Regions from separate parts of the Homo sapiens genome. Here regions 2, 3 and 4 are each linked to region 1. The links are contacts of gene promoters, found by promoter capture Hi-C in blood cells and fetal thymus (Javierre and others, 2016). All regions are on one chromosome and are shown on one strand. The core of a region is centred on a gene start or on the middle of the fragment in contact, and the rest is flanking DNA. Distances in the headings are between cores, read along the strand shown. Region 1 holds the start of NPHS1 (NPHS1 adhesion molecule, nephrin). Region 2 holds the start of FFAR3 (free fatty acid receptor 3). Region 3 holds the start of KRTDAP (keratinocyte differentiation associated protein). Region 4 overlaps ATP4A (ATPase H+/K+ transporting subunit alpha).

Region 1 (4,069 bases), core at 1-2,500:
ACCCATACCCAGGATGGAGAGGATCACTCTGGGAGACACGAGCTCGGGCCCCATCTCAGAGCGGCCGACCTGGCACTCATACTCCGCGTCATCGCTGAGGTCACAGGCCTCGATGTGCAGGTGGAATTCACCTGCAGGGGGAGCCGGAAGTCAGGGCCGCAGCTTCCGCTGGTGGCTGAGGGTCTCAGGCTCTGATCCCTTACCTCTAGCAGGGTCCCCTTCCAGGCGGTACCTCGGGAAGCCTGGGATCCTGGGGTCGGGGCCCAGGAGCAGCCCATCTTTGGCCCATTGCACCGCACTGCCAGGGGTGCTGACCCCACAACGCAGCTCCACTGAGGCCCCCTCCACCACCGTCAGGTTTTCAGGCAGGGCCCAGAAGCCCCGGGGAACGGAGGCAGGAATCGCCAACTGCGCCAGGCCTGAGGACACAGCGCGGTGCAAGGAAAGGGCAGAGGGTTTGTCTAGGGAAGGTAAGTGGGAAATGGGGGCCACTTGGCGCTGGGTACAAGGCTGGGATCCCACTCACCTTCAGTCAGCAGCCCCAGGAGCAGGAGAGAAGCCCTGAGCGTCGTCCCCAGGGCCATCACAGGTCCCCCTACTGTGACCCCCACAGCGCCCGCTGCCAGCCACCTGCGTCTGTCTGGCTTTCTCTGGGTCCCTCTCTGTGTGTCTCTGCCACCTGCTTTTCTTTTTTATCTCTTTCCGTTACTCTCCTCCCTTTCTCGTTTTCCTCTTCCCCTCTTCCCTGTGAGTATCTCTCTCTGTCTTGCTCTCAGTCTCAATCTCTGAGTCTCTTTCTCTGTCTCTTTAAAAAAACTTTTTTTTCTTTTTTCTTTTTTTTTTCTTTTTTTTTTTTTTAGAGACGGGGTCTCACTATGTTGGCCAGGTTGATCTCAGACTCTTTCCTTCAAGCCATCCTCCCACCTTGGCCTCCCCAAGTGTTGGGATTACAGGCGTGAGCCACTGCGCCCAGTCTCTTTATCTTTCCATCTTTCTCTCCTTGTCTAAGCCGTTCTCTCTCCTTTTGTCTCTGTCTCTTCCTCTCTCTCTGTCTCTCTCTCTCTCTCTCTCTCAATCTCTATCTTCTCTCCTGCCACCCCTCACTCCTGCTCCTTGTCTCACTACTCACAGCCTTTCAAGAAGGACCTGCAGCCCAGAGTCCAGCAGGCCAGGAGCCTAGGAGAGCGATGAGGCTGATGCAGGCACTGGCAGAGTCAGCCCTGCTCTCTGACCCAGCTTGAGCTCATTCTCACAGTGCAACCTCCCCCAGGTACCTTCCAGAGCCCCCAGCTCTGGCCTCTGCCCAGCAGGCTCCTCCCAGCTGGCCCAGCTGGAGCATAAAATCCCCTGTCAGCACATGCCAGGCGCGTTCCTCGGTGCCTCCCCAGCCTCCGTGACCCCAGGGCCTGGCTTAGGCTGGGAAGATGGGAGAAGTCAGATCAAGGTGGTCTCCCAGCTCAGCAGGGGAGCAGCCAGCTGGGCCCCCAGCTCTTCCTTGCCCTGATACATGACCTTGGCAAGTCTCTTTCTTTCTTTCTTTCTTTTCTTGAGATAGTCTTGCTCTGTTGCTCAGGCTGGAGTGCAGTGGCATCTCGGCTCACTGCAACTTCCACCTCCCATGGCTTGAACCTCCCAGGTTCAAGTAATTCTCCCACCTCTGTCTCCCAAGTAGCTGGTGCTACAGGTATATAGCACCATGCCTGGCTAATTTTTGTATTTTTACTAGAGACGGGGTTTCATCATGTTGGCCACGCTGGTCTCGAACTCCTGACCTCAGGTGATCCATCTGCCTCAGCCTCCCAAAATGCTGGGATTACAGACATGAGCCACCGCACCTGGCCTCCCTTCCTTTTTTAGTAGACATCAGTGCCTAAATGATGTCAGGGATCTCTGCTGGGGAGGATGCAAGAGTGAGTGTGACAGGCTGGGAGAGTGTGGGAGAGAGGGAAGATATGCATGTGTGTACGTGGGTGTGAGAGTGGGGAAGGTTAGAGTGAACTGCGATCTGTAATAAGCATGTGGAGAGCGTGTGTGTGACAGTGTCTTACGTGGGAGTGCACAGGGTGTGGGCGGGAGTAAAAGGCAGAGTCCAATTCCACCGGCCCCCAGTGTGGGTGCAGTGTGAGCCCAAAGTGGGCGCCCTTTGGCAAGGACTGCATGAGCTTTCTTCTCCCTCTTTTTCTTGCCCTCTCTCCCATCTCTTCTTTCCTTCTCCATGTCTCTCTCTCTCCCTCCCTCTATCTATCTTGATTTATCTTTCTTTCTTTTGAGATGGAATCTTGCTCTGTTGCCCAGGCTGGAGGGCAGTGGCATGATCTTGGTTCATTGCAGCCTCAACTTCCTGGGCTCAGGTGATCCTCCTGCCTCAGCCTCCTGAATAGCTGGGACTACAGGTGCACACCACCACTCCAGCTAATTTTTTAAAATTTGTTTGTAGAGACAGGGTCTTTCTCTATTGCCCAGGCTGGAGTGCAGTGGTGTGATCATGGCTCATTGAAGCCTCAAACCTCCTAGGCTCAAGTGTTCTTTCTGCCTCAGCCTCCTGAGTAGCTGGGACTACAGGCCCGCATCACCACTCTGGCTATTTTTTTTTTTTTTTTTTTTTTTTTGAGAGGGAGTCTTGCTCTGTCACCCAGGCTGGAGTGCAATGGTGCGATGTTGGCTCACTGTAACCTCCGCCTCCCAGGTCCAAGCGATTCTCCTGCCTCAGCCTCCTGAGTAGCTGGGAATACAGGCATTGACCACCACACCCAGCTAATTTTTGTATTTTTAGTAGAGACGGGGTTTCGCCATGTTGGCCAGGCAGGTCTCGAACTCCTGACCTCAGGTAACCCACCTGCCTTGGCCCCCCAAAGTGCTGGGATTACAGGTGGGAGCCGCTGCACCCCGCCACTTGGCTAATTTTTTTTAAATGTTTTTGCAGAGACAGAGTCTTGCTATATTGCCCAGGCTTGTCTGGAACTCCTGGGCTCAAGCAATCCTCCCATCTCGGCCTCCCAAAGTACTAGGATTACAGGCATGAGCCACCGCACCTGGCCCTTGATTTATCTTTCTTTTTTTTCTTTTTTCTCTTTTTTCTTTTTTTGAGATGGAGTTTCACTCTTGTTGCCCAGACTGGAGTGTAATAGTGTGATCTCGGCTCACTGCAACCTCTGCCTCCCGGGTTCAGGCGATTCTCCTGCCTCAGCCTCCCTAGTAGCTGGGATTACAGGCATGCGCCACCACGCCTGGCTAATTTTTTGTATTTTTAGTAAAGACGGGGTTTCTCCATGTTGATCAGGCTGGTCTCGAACTCCTGACCTCAGGTGATCAGCCTGACTCGGCCTCCCAAAGTGCTGGGATTGCAGGCGTGAGTCATTGTGCCCAGCTGATTTATCTTTCTATCTTTCTCCATCTGTTTGAGACTCTCTCGCTCTCTATATTAAGTTGTTAAATCTCAGTCAATCTTTATTTCACTGTGTCTCTCCATCTCTATATGTCTCTGTTATTCTGTTTCTCTGTCTCTGTTCTCACCTCTGTCGCTCCCCTCACCCCACAGTCTGTCTCACACACACCAGGAGCTCCATAAATATTTGTTCTCAGCCACACTCTGACCACGCCTCTTTCTCTTATGTGTCTCTCCATCTCCGAGTGGCTCTGCTCATCACATCCCTGGATTTTATAACCATATGCTGGTGGGCCTGCCCTCCCCGCGTGCACATACACTTGCCTGGGATAAGCTTCTTCTGCCTGCTTATCTCCTGCGGGAATTGGAAATGCTAGTTTTCTCCCTACCTCCCCAAGACCCCCGCCAATATCGTTCCCAGGAACAAGATGAGGCATCTGGCCTCAGCCCCCAGCTTCATCCTCGATGCTGGACTTCCATCTTCCCTCACATGCTTGACTCCTTGCCCTCCTCCCACCTCCCCTCTCCCAACTGCTCTCTACACCCCCTGGGAAATGGGCTGGATGCCGAGCTGGGGGAGTGGCTCTGTCCTGGGGGCCCTCGCCAGATGGTGTCCCTAGGTGCCAGAGCGTGGAGCTGTCCCTTGCTGGGGCCTTTAATAAGCACAAACCTTCCACCCTCCAC
Region 2 (4,069 bases), core at 857-3,356, 490 kb before region 1:
TTTTTTTTTTTTTTTTTTTTTTTAGACACAGTCTCACTCTGTTGCTCAGGATGGAGTGCAGTGACACAGTCATGGCTCACTGCAGCCTTGAATTCCTGGGCTCAAGCGATTCTTCCATTTCAGCTTCCCAAGTAGCTGGGACCAGAGGCACATGCCACTAAACCCAGCTAATTTCTTTTTTCTTTCTCTCTTTTTTTTTTTTTTTTCCCCTGTGGACATAGGGTCTCCTCATGTTGCCCAGGCTAGTCTCAAACAACCTGTGCTCAAGCAATCCTCCCACCTCAGCCTGCCAAAGTGCTAAAATTACGGACCTGAGCCACCGTACCCAGCCTACTGCTGCACTTTTAACAGCTTAATTGAGATATTATGTACATATCATCAAATTCACCAATGTTAAGTGTACAATTCAATGATTTTTAGTAAATTTACTGAGGTGTGAGTCCATTACCATCAGCTAGTTTTAGAACATTTTCATGACCCTAGTAAAGGATTTTACTTCATGTTCATTTAAACTTAATCTTGGGCCAGGCGGGGTGGCTCACGCCTATAATCTCAGCATTTTGGGAGGCTGGGGTGGACGGATCACCTGAGGTCAGTAGTTCGAGACCAGCCTGGCCAACATGGCGAAACCTCATCTCTACTAAACATACAAAAATTAGCCAGGCGTGGTGGCGGGCACCTGTAATCCTAGCTACTTAGGAAGCTGAGGCATGAGAATTTCTTGAACCCGGGAGGCAGAGTTTGCAGTGAGCCAAGATTGCACCATTGCACTCCAGCCTGGGCGACAACAAGACCCTGTCTCAAAAAAAAAAAAAAAAAAAAAAAAACAACTTAATCTTCATTTCTACCTCCATCCCCCAGACAACCACGAGTCTACTTTCTGACTCTATAACTTTGCCTATTCTGGACATATCATATAAATAAATGAAATCTGACAATATATGTACATGGTCTTTTACGTCTGGCTTGTTTCACTCAACATAAGGCTGTAGTGTGTATGGGTAGCTCATTCCTTTTCTTTGCCAAATAGAATTCCAGTATATGGATGTGCCACTTTTTTATTCACTCACCAGCTGATGGGCTGCCAGGTAACATTTCCACTGTTGGTGACTATGACCAACACTGCTGTGAACATTTAGGACTGAGTCTTTAAGTAGACCTGAGTTTCCACTTCTCTTAAGTAAATACCTACGGTGGAATTGTTGGATCGCATGGTGAATTTATGTTTAACTTTTTAAGCAACTGCCACCTGCTTTCCAAAGCAGGGACACCACCTCCCATTATTCTCACCAGCAGTGAATGAGGCCCCTATCTCTCTACATTCTCGCCGACCATAGGCATTGTCTGACTTTTTGCTTGTGGCCATTCTAGTGGATGTGAAATCATATCTCATTGTGCCCTGTGATTGTTTGAATGAACTAATAGATCACCTGTGAAACTGGACAGCACTTGGGTTTGAACCCTAGTGGTGACATTTCACAAGCTGTATCACCTGGAGCAAGTCACTTCCCTACGGTGAAGGACAAGGATTTTATGACATAAAAGCGTTGCCCTAGAAGCAGTGTCTGCTATGGATTATGTGCCCATGAAAAGGCAGCTGCTGTCATCATCGCCACCACCATTATTATTGTTATTATTATTACATTGTCACCCCAGAGATAATCCTGCACCAGTGACAGGGAAAATAGCAGCTGGCATCCGCTGCCTGCTCACGACCACACGCCAGGCTTCCGTCAAACCACTCAACATGTATTAGTAATCTTTTAATCGACCTACATATTGTTTTAATTTGCATGTGTTAATGCGTTGATCTATGAGATGGGTATTATGATGAGCTCTGTTCTGCAGGGGAGAAAGCAGAAACATGGAGAATTTAAGTCATTTCCCCCAAATCACAAAGTCAGGAAGAAACAGACCTCACGGAGCTCGCTCTCTGTCATTGCATCACACTTCCTGCCCTTACAAGGCAAATTGGATAAATGCCATTCTAGAGAAGCAGACAAAATTCAAGTGAAGAAGGGGAGAGGAAGACGTCGGCTGGGGCCTGCTTAGAGCATCCCAGCTGAGACTGCATGAGGAGGGAGGCACGCAGTTGTGGAATTTGTTCCCCTTTTAGCATGCTGACCAGCCCTGGCAACGGAGCTCAAGGCATCTATGTGCCACTGCTCAACAGTGAGTGACGTCATGGGCACGGCCAGGTCTTTATCAGTTCTGCCGGATAAATAGCCAACTGCACTAGGTCTGGAGAGACAGCAAGGTGCTGTGCGGCAGAGCATTTGGGGTCTCAAAGAAGCAGGTGAGCCTGGGCCCGAGGGGCTGGGTGGAGGAGCACCTTGGTGCTTCTCTGCTGGGGAAGGGACAGGGGACAGGGCATGCTCAGGAAGACAGGCAGGCTGACCCCGCCTGGAAGGCACCCAGAGACAAGAGGGGTGGGCGTAGTGACCTCGTGCCCTTTTAGGGGAGATGCTGCTGGCCAGAGGCCGTTAGGGCCCCCACTACCAACTCCATGTTACTCTCTCTCACCAGTGGCCACCACCATGGATACAGGCCCCGACCAGTCCTACTTCTCCGGCAATCACTGGTTCGTCTTCTCGGTGTACCTTCTCACTTTCCTGGTGGGGCTCCCCCTCAACCTGCTGGCCCTGGTGGTCTTCGTGGGCAAGCTGCAGCGCCGCCCGGTGGCCGTGGACGTGCTCCTGCTCAACCTGACCGCCTCGGACCTGCTCCTGCTGCTGTTCCTGCCTTTCCGCATGGTGGAGGCAGCCAATGGCATGCACTGGCCCCTGCCCTTCATCCTCTGCCCACTCTCTGGATTCATCTTCTTCACCACCATCTATCTCACCGCCCTCTTCCTGGCAGCTGTGAGCATTGAACGCTTCCTGAGTGTGGCCCACCCACTGTGGTACAAGACCCGGCCGAGGCTGGGGCAGGCAGGTCTGGTGAGTGTGGCCTGCTGGCTGTTGGCCTCTGCTCACTGCAGCGTGGTCTACGTCATAGAATTCTCAGGGGACATCTCCCACAGCCAGGGCACCAATGGGACCTGCTACCTGGAGTTCCGGAAGGACCAGCTAGCCATCCTCCTGCCCGTGCGGCTGGAGATGGCTGTGGTCCTCTTTGTGGTCCCGCTGATCATCACCAGCTACTGCTACAGCCGCCTGGTGTGGATCCTCGGCAGAGGGGGCAGCCACCGCCGGCAGAGGAGGGTGGCGGGGCTGTTGGCGGCCACGCTGCTCAACTTCCTTGTCTGCTTTGGGCCCTACAACGTGTCCCATGTCGTGGGCTATATCTGCGGTGAAAGCCCGGCGTGGAGGATCTACGTGACGCTTCTCAGCACCCTGAACTCCTGTGTCGACCCCTTTGTCTACTACTTCTCCTCCTCCGGGTTCCAAGCCGACTTTCATGAGCTGCTGAGGAGGTTGTGTGGGCTCTGGGGCCAGTGGCAGCAGGAGAGCAGCATGGAGCTGAAGGAGCAGAAGGGAGGGGAGGAGCAGAGAGCGGACCGACCAGCTGAAAGAAAGACCAGTGAACACTCACAGGGCTGTGGAACTGGTGGCCAGGTGGCCTGTGCTGAAAGCTAGGTCCTCCGGGGGAGGAGGGTGTAGCTGGCATGTCATCCTCAGGGCGCTTCCTCGCTCACGCCAGGAGGGACTTGGAGTGGCGAGCTGGGGCCCGATGGGGCTTGGGGGCAGAGTAGACATCTAGCCTCCCTAAGGGTATGCGCGCTAAAGCCCAGCTCTCGATCTCACCTCCATCCCCATCCACCCACACACTATGGATTGGGCTCTGGGAAGGGGTCAGGGTGAGAGGCTGCTCTGGAGAACAATGAGGTCCTCATAGCAGCAGGCAGCTCCTGTGTTTTCTTGAGGGTGGCAGAGGAGCTAAGAGCAGTGCCCAGGGTCTGAGGGGGCTGCCCAGTGAGTGGCAGGGGCAGGAGAGGGGAGAACCCCATCCTCAGAGCTGCTCCCAGCCAGCGAGTCAGGAGCGGGGGAGACAGGGCTCCAGGGATGAGGCCGCATTCTGCTCCCACAGCGCCTTTTCCAGAAAGTTCCCATTGCTCAATAAATGTGGA
Region 3 (4,069 bases), core at 1,006-3,505, 360 kb before region 1:
CCTTCAGTTTGGTGAGAAGGCTGATCCTCCTTTCCCTGTCCCCACTCTCTCTCCCATATCTTCTGCTTCTTCCCTTACCCCCAAGCTCCATACCCTCCTAATGCCCACACCTCTTACCTTAGGAAAGGCATCCCAGTTGAGGAAAGGAAGTTTCCTTTTGATAGACTAAAAGAAAGAAAGAGAAAGAGAGTGATGTGTTGCAGGTCAGCCGGGCATGGATGGGTAAGCATTCCCTTAATGAACTCCCACAGTAACCATAGTAACAATAATGTCATTATTTTGTCATTACTTTATCAAGAGCTAATATTTCCTGAGGCCTTAGTCTGTGTCTGCCTTGCACGGGCTGCTCTACAAGCATGATTTCAGTGGGTTTTTACAGCAACCTTTTGTGGTGGGAATTGTCATCATCCCCACATCACAGAGGAAGCGGAGGCCGAGGGAGCTGAAGGCGTTCGCATGAGGCCATGTGAGAAGTCAGTGCAGAGTCAGGAGACGCGGGCCCCAGCTCTGTCGCTGACTTTGCCTTCTAAGTGCGGGTGGGCCTCAGTTTTTCCATAGAGGATGAGGGGATTCAAATAAAATCTTGACCGATTAGCCTCTTCCTCTTCTGCAATTGTCCTTGGGGCCCTGCTCCTCCACCACCATCTTAGGAAAACACGGGTAGCCAGGACTGGCGCCGGGGGAAGCTTTCTTCCGTTGACAGCCCATTGGGCAGCATCCAGGCAGGACAGTCACTCCCTCCCAGAGATCAGGAACCAACCCATACATTTAAAGCCAAAATGTGTGGCCACTACCCTGGGATGACTGCAGACAACCGAGGAGGGCAAGGGGCGCCGGAGCACTCACCTCAAAGAGGGCGTGCCAGTTCAGGAACTCATCAGCCTTAAACGCCTGAGGAGGAAGAGAGACAGCAGAAGCAGGTCAGCTCCAGGGGAGGCCAGAGCTTAGCCCCCAGCCCTCTGGAGAAGGTGAAGGAACCGTGGCAGCTTTGCAAGCTCTCTACCAAGGCGTTTATCCCCTCTGTGATGAGGGTATTCGTGGGGGTAGCACCAGAGAAGCGTACTCACAGATCGCAATTTGTCGATGTTCAGGAACGGGGTGTTAAAGGCCTAGGCAGAAACGCAGGGTGTTAGGAAAGTTGCTAAGAAGCAAAAAGAGAGAGAGGACAGACTCGTGGCTGGAGGGCCGGGGAAAACAGACGGCTTACCTCGGGTCGTGACGCATAATTCTCAATGGTGCTTTCTTCCTGGAAAAGGAGAGGGAGAAAAGGCGGCAGGGGGTCACGTGATGCCAGGGCCCTTGCCCACATCCCTGTCTGCCAGCTCTGCCTTCATCCACAGCCCAGTCCCCGAAAGAACGCAACCCATTCCCCACCATGGTCTCCGTTCCAGTCGCGCACATGGTTGGCGGATGTGCAGGGTGAGGAGGGGGAATTGGAGAATGGTACATGTAAGCAGTGTCACCATGGGCAGCAGGCAGAAAGCCTGGAGCCGAGCATTCCTCTCCGGAAAAGCTAGCTAGTGCTGTCCTGCAGTTGACTTAAGTCTAAGAGGTGGGGTGTTCTGGAGACACCCACGCTCAGTCCGTATAGCTGGATGGGAAAGATTTGCGAGCAGGTGGGAGCCCAGCTGCTGAGGTGACCCGCCTGCCTCTCACTGATCGAGGTTGCTTTGCTTTGTGGATTTATTGCCACCACTGTTGGAGGTTCCATAATCCCCCTCCATGGGGACCCCACCCCAGGCCTCAGTGTGTCCCATCGTGTCTTCCCCATGACAGAGCCCAACACGGAGCCCGCAGGCTGGATCCAGATGCTTAGATCTCATAAAAATTTGGTCATTTGTTTTTTGGTTTGAATTAGACATTTTGAATTAGTAAGAATTCATAAATTCATCCAGATTTCTAGTTTCCCCTGAAAAATGTAAAACTCTAGGCACATCTTCCCAATCCATGGCGTCAGGTGGGGTGAAAGCTGCCCTTTCAGACTGGGAAAGTTGGCCCCATTTCACCTCAGGCCCTGACAGCCCCCCCAGCTCAGTGACACCACTGGCTTGGTCCTTAGCAGCTGAGCCTGTGCCCCTGTCTTAGACTTTTAAATCCGGAATAGGCATCAGGATTCCTCTCTGGCTGAGGACTGGATGGTAAAGATTCTCACTGTGGCCTATGCTCCAGAGACAGCAGGGAGCCACCCGTCACCTGGGCACCACTCCCAGGGGCACAAATGAAGCAAAGAGGAGCTAAGCAGGGGTGTCTCCAGAACACCCCAGCCCCACTCCTCTTTGAGTTAAGTCAGCTGCAGGCAGAACTAGCTAGTTTTTTGCTTTGCTTCACCCTCTCCACCTGCTGCCCATGTGGATGCAGGCCTGGGTTTGGAGCTGCTCTGCCTCACATTGCCGTTCTCCAGTTCCCCCTCTTCCCCTGCACGTCCCCAGGCATGTGTGCAGCTGGAACGGAATGGGTGAACACTCTTGAGAGCCCATGGTGGAGATAGTCTGAACCCAGACCACCCACTCAGTCCCAAGGTTCAGTACACGAGCCTCCCCAACACACTTCACCATCCCTTCCAGAAAGAGGAGCATCTCTGTCCCAAATGTCTCCCCAGGGATGCTCTGTTCCCTCCTCCCTTCCTCAGAGCCCCAGTTTCTTCAGCCCCCATCAGAATCCAAAACTAAGAGCCACTTATCCAGGAATGGACAGGAGGTAGAGAGATGGAGGGGTAGGTGGGTAACACGTATAAGAATAAAAATGCAGGTGACGTGCTCACCTCAGGACCACCCAGGGTGGCTCCCTGGGCAGAGTGGAGCACCAGGAGGGAGAGGAGCACCACGGCAGGAAGGACCGGGATCTTCATGGCGTCAAGTTTGGGGTGCTCTGAGGCGGGGCCTCAGTGCTTGCTCTTTATATTGCCAAGGAGGCAGATGAGCACAGAAATGGGGTCCCCACCCCACTGACTCACCCCCAGATCTTGTCGCCCACCCCCGGGGCTCTGGGAGGGGGAGGCATGGACTGTTCCTCATTTGCCTCGGATTTCTCAATTCGCATTCTGCCCCAGGCACGTGGAAGGTAACACTGCAATGGGTCTCTTCATGCAGATGGGGCTGGGACAGAGACAGGTTGGACCTGTCCCTCCAAGGGATTGGCAGTGGTACCCAAGCAACCTCTCCTTTTGTCTTTGTCTCTTTTCGTTATATCCCTCATTCCTCTCTTAGAATTCAGGCTTTTTCTTTTCTTTTCTTTTCTTTTTTTTTGACAGGCTCTCACTCGTTGCCCAGACTGGAGTGCAGTGGTGTGATCACAGCTCACTGCAGCCTTGACCTCCCAGGCTCAAGCAATCCTCCCACCTCAGTCTCCCTAGTAGCTGGGACTAGAGGCACGCATCACCTCACCTAGCTAACTTTTTTATTTTCTTGTAGAGATGTTGCAGCTTTTTTTTTTTTTAATTTTCTCGTAGAGATGAAAATGTCTCGCCATGTTGCCCAAGCTGGCCTCAAACTCCTGGACTCAAGGGGTCCGCCTGCCTTGACCTCCCAAAGGACTATAGGTGTGAGCCTGCGCTCCATGCTCATTCAGGCCTTTTCTTCCACCCTACCAAAATCTATGTAAACTCTTTAGCTTGGCATTGAAGGTGGTCCATGCTCTGAACTCAACCCACCTTTATAACTTCTTCCTTTACTAGCTTTGTACATACCTCACATTCTGGCCAAATTAGACCCCTTACCAACTATATCCTTCTTTTTCCCTCTTCAAAGCATCCGGCCATGCTGTTCCTTATTCCTAACATGGCCTTCTCTCATCTCCAGTTCTCAGAACCCAACACTCATCTTGGATGAAGCTTCCCAGATTTTTCCTGCAATGCCCAGTCCTTCTCTCCACACCTTTCCTTTCACAGAATTCCCATATTCATTCGTTTGTATGTCTCTGGCATTGTATCTAAGTAAGTCATGTTCTCGCCTTGTTTCCCTTTTAGAGTATCAAGTTCCTTGAGGTCAGGAGCTGTATCTTGATCAGCTTTACATCCCCCTAGAACCATGGCTCACACAGAACCCAGGTAGAGTCAGCATTGGTCAGATAT
Region 4 (4,069 bases), core at 1,027-3,526, 300 kb before region 1:
ACTTGTGAGCAGGAACAGGACTGAGGTTAGCAGGCAGGACCTGCAGGGACGGCACAGCCACACCAGCCTGGACAGCCTGGGCCCCACTGGCCCCTGGGTGTTGGCATCCTGGTGCCCATCTTCGTAAGAACATCTGCTTTTATCTTCTCCCTCTGTCTCCCTCCCTCTCTTTCTCTGTTCCTCACTCTGTTTCTCTGTCCCTGTCTCCAGTGTAATTCTCTGTGACTGTATCTGCTCTTGTGTATTTCTGTGTCACTCCCTATCTCTGTGTATCTTCAGTCTCTCAGTGTCGCCGTGCCCCTTCATCTGCTTGTGCCTAGAGTGGCAGCAGAGCATACTGACCACGACCACAGGCTGTGGGACCTGTGACTGCTCAAGCTCAAGTCACAGCCGGGCCACTTATTTGCCCAGTGACCTGGGACAATCCACTCTACCTGTCTATGCCTTGATGAGCTCATCAGTAAAGTACGGGTGATAGTAACAAAACTCATCTCATAGTGTGGTTATGAGTACAAAATTAAGGAAATGATGGTGTGTCTGGCCCAGAGAAAGCACTGTGTAAATGTTACCGAATAAATACCTGTCAACACAGCTGCGCCTCTGGCTGCATTCGTGACTGTATCTGTGGTTCTTTTCTGTCTGTCTGCCATGGGGTCTATCTGAGGGGGTTTATTTGTCCGTGTCTGTTTAGGGGCACGTGTCTGTGATTCAAGTTTGGCCAGATACCTGTTCTGTTTCCATCTCTGTCTGAGTATCTGTATCTGAGTCATGTGTGTGCATGGGTCGGCCCGGGCCTACCTGAGTGTCCGCCTGTGTGTGCATGGCTGTATGTCCATTTAGGTCTGTTCACCTGCCTGCCACCCATGTGTCCTGCACTGGCTGTCATTGCACACACAGGTCTTGTCTGTCACTCTGTGCCCAAGAGTGTCTGTGGTGGTCTCTGTCCCTCCTGTCCATCTGCAAGCAAGTGTCTCTGGGCACCCTGTGGATGGGTACCCTGGGCTGTGGACTTACAATGTCAGTGCAGAGTTCGATGAAGAGGATGGTGATGCACCCGAGGGGCAGGGGCACGCTGACGGTGATGTAGATGAGGTAGGGTGTCAGCTCTGGGATGTTCTTGGTCAATGTGTAGGCAATAGACTTCTTCAGGTTGTCGAAGATCAGTCGACCTGTGGGGTAGGGTGGGCACCTCAGCCTCCTCACAGCCCTCTCCCTCCTGTGCCCACACTGCCTGCCCTCCCCCTGGCGTGGCTCGGACCCTGCTCCACGCCTGTCACAATGGAGGCAAAGTTGTCATCCAGCAGGATCATGTCAGCTGCATTTTTGGCAGCATCTGAGCCAGCGATGCCCATGGCTACTCCGATGTCTGCCTTCTTCAGAGCTGGGGAGTCATTCACACCATCCCCCGTGACGGCCACAATCGCACCCTGCAGGCAGTGGGTGCAGGTGGTGGGTGGGTGGTCAGTGAGAGGCCGGTCCAAGACCAGCCCCGCCTGTCTGCCCGCCTGCCCACCCTCATCAGCAGGGCTCACCAGCCGCTGGCAGCTCTCCACGATCACCAGCTTCTGCTGGGGGCTGGTGCGCGCAAACACCATCTCGGGGTGGGTGCGCAGGGCCTCGACCAGTTCCGATGGGTCCATGTCCTTCAGCTGCATGCCATTGATCACACAGGCACGGGCATCCCTGGGGAGGAGATGGGAGGACCTCGCTGGGACCTCGGTCTGTGCCAGATGTGGGGAGAACCCCGGGGAGGTCTGGGGGGGCTTACTTGCGATTAACCTGGTCTACGGGCACACGGAGGCGGGCAGCGATGTCCTCCACTGTCTCGCTGCCTTCCGAGATGATGCCCACACTGGCTGCAATGGCCTTGGCGGTGATGGGGTGGTCACCCGTTACCATGATCACCTGTAGGGGGAACCAGTGGATCACTGACCCCTTCAGATCAGCCCAATCTCCCTGTCCTCCCTGGGAGACATCTGCTGATACACGTGTTCATTTACTTGACCAAGCGTGACCACCTCCTACGTGCCTGGGATATAGCAGAGACAAAAGAGACAAAAATCCCTGTCCTTGAGGAGCTCTAGTGAGGGTGACAGAAAATAAAGAAACGAATTATATAGTGTGTTAGAAAGTGGAAAAAAACATATTAAGCTTGGTGAAGGAAACGGTGACTCGATTTTAAGTGTACCCAGGGAAGGGCTTATTGAGAAGGTGATATCTGAGCAGAGACCTGTAAGAGGTGAGAGAGTCAGCCACGTGGAAAGCTGGGAGAAGAGTGCTCCTGGCAGGGAGAACAGCAGGTGCAAAGGCCCTGAGGTGAGGACAGGCCCGAACTGTCGGAGGAACAGCAGGGAGGACACCATAACTGCAGAGGAGTGAACAAGGAAAGAGGGCTAACGAACAAGCTTAGAAAGGTAACAAGGCCCGATGTAACAGGGCCGTAGAGACACGGGAAGGGCTTGGGCATTGCCTGCCTGGCCTTGGCTTTCCCACCCTTGTTTTGTGTTTGGGGAACCACTCCTCTCCCCTACACCATCAGTTGCAGTGAGGTCCCTGGCTAAGATTGGGTAAGTAAGCCCAGACCTGGCCAATCAAGGTCTTCCATCCCCCAGCCCCAGTGACTGGCTCAGGGATAAATGAGTGACCCAATCCAGTGCTACTGCAAAAGAGGCACTCTCTTTTTGTGGGGTGGCTAAGCAGGTGGGAGTTAAGTTTGAGCTGCTGGAGCAGGGGTGTGTGTGTCCCCAAGTGAAGGGAGTGCCTGCAAATAAAGCCAGCAAAGAGAACAGCAGAGCTGAGACATGGAGAAAGGAAAATTCCTAATGACACTGAGCTCCTGGATCTGGCTAGACCTGAAGCTTAATTCCCCAGAATTTTTCAGTATCATAAACCAATGCATTTTGGTTCAAGCCAGTTTCAGGTGGGTTTGTCATGGGGTTCTTCAACCCAAATCCTGCTGCCATCCTCTGTCCTCACTCCACTTGTTCCTCCCCACAGTGGCATACCCGGATGCCTGCGGTGCGACACTTGAGCACAGCATCAGGGACGGTGGCCCGGGGTGGGTCAATCATGGATACAAGTCCCGCAAAGCAGAGGCCGCTAGATGGAAAGTTCATGGCCTCTACGTCGAAGGCATAGCCAGGCGGGTAGTCCTTCTCATTCAGGTAGAGCTGGCAGAAGCCTGACCGGAAACGGGGAAGTCAGGGAAGAGCCCTGGGCACACCCTTTCTTAGCAGGGCCAGGAAATGGGTAAAATAACCAGGCCCCTTGCACCAAACACCTATGGATGCCTGACCTTGTGCTGACCCCTTCACTCACATTATCTGAATCTACCCTCACAACCACCCTGTGAGGCCCATTCTCATCTTACAGATGAGGAAACTGAGGCTCAGAGAGGGGACATTTCTTGCCAGAGGTCACACAGCAAGTAAAAGGCCCAGAATTGGACCACAGATCTGCTTTCTAGGGTAGAGGCAGCGAAGTTTAAGGCGTCAGGACAAAAATTGGGAGAGGTTAGAGGTCAGGATACGGATAAAAGTCCAGGTGAGGACTGGGGTCAAGGTAGAAAGTGAGGACAGACAGGGGTCAGGACTGGTACAGGGAAAGTCAAGGGTGAGGCTGTGGACTGCGACAAATCAGCCAGCAGCCAGGGATGAGGACGGTCAGGGCTGGGCCGGGAGTGGTGGGCAGGGTCTGTGCTAGCTCCTCCTCGCACCTGGAGTCTCCTCCCCTGCCCAGGGGTCTCACCGAGCACGCGTTCGCCCAGGCCTCCCAGGCTGAGGTAGGCGGTCTGGAAGGCCTCGCGCCACTGCTCGTCCAGCGGCAGCTCCTGGCCCTTGATAAGGATGGAGCTGCAGCGCTCCAGCACGCGCTCGGGGGCGCCCTTCATCACCAGCAAGTGTCGCGGGTCCCGCGGGTCCTCCAGCGTATGGATGGACAGCTGTGGGCGGGGGGGAGAGGCGAGGCTGTGGACGGGGGAACGGGGCGGGGCTGTGGACGAGGGAACGGGGCGGGGCTGAGGAGAGGGGCGGGGCCGAGAGCTCGGTGCGGGCTCTGAGAGCTGCGGGGA

Evidence for each region. Contacts are between HindIII fragments. The CHiCAGO score rates a contact against its expected background, and 5 or more counts as called.
Region 2: the fragment with the promoter of FFAR3 here is called in contact with the fragment with the promoter of NPHS1 in region 1 in 10 of 17 cell types (neutrophils, total B cells, fetal thymus and 7 more); the score reaches 11.7 in neutrophils.
Region 3: a fragment that was not itself captured here is called in contact with the fragment with the promoter of NPHS1 in region 1 in 4 of 17 cell types (M0 macrophages, M2 macrophages, erythroblasts and 1 more); the score reaches 7.1 in M0 macrophages.
Region 4: a contact is called between a fragment that was not itself captured here and the fragment with the promoter of NPHS1 in region 1, in 5 of 17 cell types (M0 macrophages, M1 macrophages, M2 macrophages and 2 more). The highest score is 10.0, in M0 macrophages.

What each region holds. Positions count from the first base shown.
Region 1 is chr19:35,851,254-35,855,322 of GRCh38, forward strand. It overlaps NPHS1 (NPHS1 adhesion molecule, nephrin), which reads right to left and starts at 1,251. Exons shown (of 29, transcript NM_004646.4): 1 at 527-1,251; 2 at 204-419; 3 at 9-131. The coding sequence starts at 584. It also overlaps a transcript of KIRREL2 not described here. RefSeq lists enhancers at 1-537, 538-1,179. The HindIII fragment of the contact is 3,857 bases long and covers 1-3,717 here.
Region 2 is chr19:35,356,354-35,360,422 of GRCh38, forward strand. FFAR3 (free fatty acid receptor 3) reads left to right here and starts at 2,107. Exons shown (of 2, transcript NM_005304.5): 1 at 2,107-2,296; 2 at 2,527-4,069. The coding sequence starts at 2,538. The coding sequence ends at 3,578. RefSeq lists an enhancer at 3,428-3,955. The HindIII fragment of the contact is 8,969 bases long and covers 1-4,069 here.
Region 3 is chr19:35,487,595-35,491,663 of GRCh38, forward strand. KRTDAP (keratinocyte differentiation associated protein) reads right to left here and starts at 2,870. Exons shown (of 6, transcript NM_207392.3): 1 at 2,762-2,870; 2 at 1,208-1,246; 3 at 1,068-1,109; 4 at 847-891; 5 at 118-165. The coding sequence starts at 2,848. The HindIII fragment of the contact is 3,143 bases long and covers 685-3,827 here.
Region 4 is chr19:35,553,908-35,557,976 of GRCh38, forward strand. It overlaps ATP4A (ATPase H+/K+ transporting subunit alpha), which reads right to left. Exons shown (of 22, transcript NM_000704.3): 11 at 3,748-3,940; 12 at 3,006-3,181; 13 at 1,769-1,905; 14 at 1,533-1,683; 15 at 1,259-1,427; 16 at 1,015-1,169. Among named protein-coding and RNA genes, the nearest start is that of ATP4A, 7.7 kb to the right of the region's middle. RefSeq lists an enhancer at 4,029-4,069. The HindIII fragment of the contact is 254 bases long and covers 2,150-2,403 here.